Regions from separate parts of the Homo sapiens genome. Here region 2 is linked to region 1. Evidence: promoter capture Hi-C in human tissues and cell types (Jung and others, 2019). All regions are on one chromosome and are shown on one strand. The core of a region is centred on a gene start or on the middle of the fragment in contact, and the rest is flanking DNA. Distances in the headings are between cores, read along the strand shown. Region 1 holds the start of IZUMO3 (IZUMO family member 3). Region 2 has its middle 45 kb from the start of LINC03106.

What was found. Contacts are between HindIII fragments. The study calls those that stand out against the background at their distance.
Region 2: a contact is called between a fragment that was not itself captured here and the fragment with the promoter of IZUMO3 in region 1, in 1 of the 25 tissues and cell types used here (dorsolateral prefrontal cortex).

The regions. Positions count from the first base shown.
Region 1 is chr9:24,544,624-24,547,323 of GRCh38, forward strand. IZUMO3 (IZUMO family member 3) reads right to left here and starts at 1,274. Exons shown (of 7, transcript NM_001365008.2): 1 at 801-1,274; 2 at 589-663; 3 at 349-438; 4 at 120-137. The coding sequence starts at 1,026. RefSeq lists an enhancer at 1-923. The HindIII fragment of the contact is 4,602 bases long and covers 603-2,700 here.
Region 2 is chr9:26,020,790-26,023,489 of GRCh38, forward strand. No RefSeq gene overlaps it. Among named protein-coding and RNA genes, the nearest start is that of LINC03106, 45 kb to the right of the region's middle. The HindIII fragment of the contact is 5,502 bases long and covers 1-2,700 here.

The DNA of each region.
Region 1 (2,700 bases), core at 24-2,523:
ACCACAGCTCTAGGAATTGGTTTCCCAGTGTAACAGGTGGGAGAGATAGGGCCATATAGAGCAAAGGAGATGGGAAAATATGGGCTGAAACCTCAAGGCGTCACATGTACTGTACTCACTGCAATCTTCAGAACAAGCTAGAAGAGAATCAGAAAGTTCTAATGAGTTTAAAACCAGCTACAGTTTGCCATATTTATACCCAAGTAGTCTTTGTTTACCCTTTAAGTTCCAGTTACCTCTCCACCCATTCTAAATAACTCTATTATGAACTTGCATTTCTTCCCTCATCCCGCATTTTCTATTCCCTTCATATAACTTCAGTGCTGTTATATAGAAAGTTTTACTTACCAATTTCAGAGAAGTTCTTTAGTAATTCTTTCAGTTTGGATTCCAGGTTTTGGCAGACATCGAGAAGCTTGCCTTGATAGATAAAGACACCTAAGAGGGAGTGGAAGGGGTGTCAAAAAATAGAAGTAGCTCTTCCCTTCAGAAGTTAATTATGTCTGTTTTTATCTTTGTTTTCCCCAGCCAAATTTTCTGAGGCTTGCTTGAGCAATACAAACTTTTAACATTGAAACAGTACCTCACCTTTCCATGTTTCATTGCCCAGTTTATAAAATTCATTCTTCAACCATGTTCTCAACTTAACAACCTGCTGAACAGCTAGAGAGGGAGAGTAAAGGTACATGTAGGGGAATAATTACATCTATGCAGGAAGTTATGTAGACCCAGGTGTTCTCTTCCTTGCCTCCCTTCTCCGTTTAAGCCCCTGGACTCTCAGGAACTCAAGCTTCCCTCACCCAACACCCGAAGCCTCTTGTCACTGTGGGAGACCTTGAAGCTTAAATGAATCATCTCCTTAATCTGCCGTTCAAGCAGCTGAGTTCGGCCGGGGACTTCTGAAGGTATCAGATTTCCCAGCAAGGAGCCAACATCCTCTATAAATTTGGGGTCACATTCTAAACAGCCTTTGACTCCATGGAAGGCTGAGAGGGGCAGGAGCAGGAATAACCACAGGTCACCCATTTCTTTCTTCACCCCCGCTCCCCGACAGCAGGTTGTCCTGGCAACTAGTTCACTTAGTTCCTTTTCCTTCAAAAATCCGGGAATGAGAGCCTGGTTCTGGATAGTCTGACTCCACTTTTCCCGCTGTTTCCATCCCACTATCGGGCAATCTTTAGTTGTTTAGTTTAATGATCTTTAGTTGTTTACTGACTATTATCCTTCATTCTAGGAGAGGGAACTGCCAGCTGGGGAGCGGATACCTGAGTTCTGAGTGTAGAACACCAAGAGATAGAGAAGCCTTGAGCTCACACAAGCAGAGTTCTGTGCAGGGAGATGTCTCAGAAAAAGTGTTTCTTTAGCCCTCTCCCTGACTTGCATCCTCATGAGACTCTTAAACCCCCTCCTGACCTTCAGAGATGTTTATCATCAGAGATGGGTTATGGAAGTGATCCTATAGAACCTGAGAGATTGCTTAACTCAAACTCTGCTTCTACATTAGAGGTAAGAAAAGCCAAGAATATTGAGTTTCTTGCGGGTCTCGGTCCCTACTGGGGCAGTATTGTTGACAAATACTGGTGGCAGTATTGTTGAGAATAAAGGAGTGAGCATTTATCTAGAATAATATTTGGCAATTTTAATAGACAGTAACATATTTCAGGCTACATTTATCACTAGGATGATTTTCTAGACATGACTTGTAATCTTTTCCTTTTCTTCTTGCTTTCTTCTCTTTTCTTTCCCTTCCTTCCTTCCTTCCTTCCTTCCTTCCTTCCTTCCTTCCTTCCTTCCTTCCTTCCTTCCTTCCTTCTTTCTTTCTCCTTTTCTTTTCTTTTCTTTTCTTTTCTTTTCTTTTCTTTTCTTTTCTTTTCTTTTCTTTTCTTTTTTTTCTTTTCTTTTCTTCTTTCGAGATGGGATTTCACTCTTGTTGCCCGGGCTGGAGTGCAATGGCATGATCTCAGCTCACTTCAACCTCCGCTCCCGGGTTCCAGTGTTTCTCCTGCATCAGCCTCCTGAGTAGCTGGGATTACAGGCATGTGCCATCATGCCTGGCTTATTTTGTATTTTTAGTAGAGATGAGGTTTCTCCATGTTGGTCAAGCTGGTCTTGAACTCCCGACCTCAGGTGATTCACCCGCCTCGGCCTCCCAAAGTGCTGGGATTACAGGCATGAGCCACTGTGCCTGGTGATTTCTAATCTTTTTATAGCATTCTTCTTATAGAGAGTGTGGAGTCAGATACTAGAAACAATAGTTGAGGAATACTGAGTGATGAATCCAATAAAGTTCAGATCCTTTAACAAGTGCATTCTAAAATACTGGCAAAGTATGTAACATATAAAAACATAGTGGTTATCATGGGCTTCCCTCTCAGACCACCTACAAGGAAGATGTCCAAATAAACATGTTCTCCTTTCAATGGCCCTTTGAATAAAAATATTCTGTGTTATTTGAATAAATTGAGGTTGCTTTTCAGACTCTTAAGAGCACTGGTTACCTCTTTTCTAATACATTGCCTGTATGGCTGTGACCTTCTGGAAACCAGGAAACACTGGCAATCTACAGGGTTAGTGGTAGAATTTATATTTAAGATATGGGGTGATCACAGTGGAATGTTGTGCGGGAAGTTAAAAGAATTACCATTACTTATACGTCTACCAAGTCCATGTGACAGACATTGTGCTAAACATTTCAGGTAG
Region 2 (2,700 bases), core at 25-2,524, 1.5 Mb after region 1:
ATGATTTATGGCCAAAAATGACTTACTCAATGAGGAAAACAACCGATTTGAAGTGCCTGAAAAGTTTTCAAGTTTGAACATATGGCTTTAAAACATTATATAATAACTTTATACAATACTAAAAATATTACTTCCTTTTATTCTTCCTTATTTTTGCCTAATCCAGGTTCTCATTCAGGATACACTGAGACTATGTTAGGCCCATAATAATTTTTGGTCTTTTCATTGTTATGCCATTTTTATATGGATAGTTGCTTGGCGACCTAGGCCATCTTCTTTGAAGTCTGCCTTGCCATTGCTTTCTGAGAAGCCATAATAACCCTGACACTTTCTGGGAAGCCTTAATAAGCCTTGCTTTGTTGTGTGATTGAAACTAAGCAAGAGCTTCATATTCTACTCCTCATGTATGTTTTAGATAGCAGTTGGAGTTAAATTGATTTGTCTTTGTTGTTGAATTTAACTTTCCTTATACCTTTAATTCTGATTTATGGCAGAGACCATTTTTCCTAAAATGTTTTTTACTTAAGTCTACTTGTTTCTAAGGCACTGTGAGACTTATTTTTATATTTTATTTTATCCTTCTTTCTTGTGAGTCCCTGTGCTAGACATCTGAGAAGTTAGTTTTAAGAGCTTCTTTTCTTGGTTGATATTTGCTTTGACATCAATGGGAACTCACATGTGTAAATGAAAACTCTTCTATGGAAAGAATCTTCTTTAACATCCATCTGGACCAGCCAGATAAGTCTGACAATGGTTTTATATTACTCAAGGAAACTTAACTATTTATTACTGTTGTATACTCTGAGCAGATTCACATAGGAATGCATTAACGATGTTAGAAAATAGTTCATATCATCATATGAAAATATATCTCCCAAGTTACAGCTCTTCATATATTATAATAATTTTCTATACGAGTCTTTAGAAAGTACATCATTTCACAAGATCTGTACAACAATGACATGAGTTGGTGTAGGAATATATTATCATTGTTACTTTTAGGTAAATTAAGTGAGGCTTACCTATAAGATTAGATCATTTGATCAAAAAAGTTAAAAAGAGCAGAGCCAGCATTAAAATTTAAAATGTTCTGATTGTAAATAAAGAATGAATGATGCTGAAATTATTTTTAAAAATTCATAAAATGAACTGATTTTGAAAGCCTACTTAAACCAATTTTATGCCTATATAATGTGAAATGATTCATTCACATATTCATTTATCTATATATACATATATGTTGGTATTCATTCAACAAAAATCTACTAAATACCTAATATAGGCCATAAACTCTCTTATACACAGGAGCAGATGTAGAAAGAAATAAGTTAAGACTTGTGCATTGTGTGACAATACAGTATGATATTGAAGATGCTGGCTCCTGAGTCAAAAAATATCACATGCAAACTATTCTGTTTTTACATTAGTTATGTAACATTTTAAATATTTTGTTAAACACAAGAACGAATTATTCACAAAAATATATTTCCAAAAAGAACAGAAAAGTAAATACAGCTTTTTGAGACAATTTTAAACTTCCAAAAGGGTTGCAAAAATAGTTTAGAGATTATGTGAAATGTTCAGAGTAGGCTAACTGGAGACAGAAAGTAGATTAGTGATTGCTTAAGTCTGGAGGTGGTGCAGGGAATGGGGGAAAATGGAGAGTGACAGCTTATGAGTATGATGTTTCTTTTTGGTTTTTATACTTTAAGTTATGGGGTACATGTGCAGCACGTGCAGGTTTGTTACATAGGTATACACGTGCCATGGTGGTTTGCTGCACCCATCAACCCGTCATCTACATTAGGTATTTCTCCTAATGCTATCCCTTCCCTAGCTCCCCACCCCCAAACAGGCCGCAGTGTGTGATGTTCCCCTCCGTGTCCATGTATTCTCATTATTCAACTCCCACTTATGAGTGAGAATGTGCGGTGTTTGGTCTTGTGTTCTTGTGATTGTTTGCTGAGAATGATGGTTTACAGCTTCATCCATGTCCCTGCAAAGGACATGAACTCATCTTTTTTTATGGCTGCATAGTATTCCATGGTGTATATGTGCCACATTTTCTTTATGCAGTCTATCATTGATGGACATTTGGGTTGGTTCCAAGTCTTTGCTATTGTGAATAGTACTGCAACAAACATACGTGTGCATGTGTCTTTATAGCAGCATGATTTACAATCCTTTTGGTGTATACCCAGTAATGGGATGGCTGGGTCAAATGGTATTTCTAGTATAGATCCTTGAGGAATCGCCACACTGTCTTCCACAATGGTTGAACTAATTTACACTCCCACCAACAGTGTAAAAGCGTTCCAATTTTCCACATCCTCTCCAGCATCTGTTGTTACGTGACTTTTTAATGATCGTCATTCTAGCTGGTGTGAGATAGTATCTTATTGTGGTTTTAATTTGCATTTCTCTAATGACCAGTGATGATGAGCATTTTTTCATGTTTGTTGGCTGCATAAATGTCTTCTTTTGAGCAGTGTCTGTTCATATCCTTTGCTCACTTTTTGATGGGGCTGTTTTTTTTTCTTGTAAATTTGTTTGAGTATGAGGTTTCTTAAGAGAAGTTCCATTAATAGTATAACTGTTTTCCAATCATGGTATTTATAGCTATATCTTCATTCTTATGAGGGTGTGTGGGTGTGTGTGTGTGTTTGTGTGTGTGATCATACCAATATCATCTGTCATTTC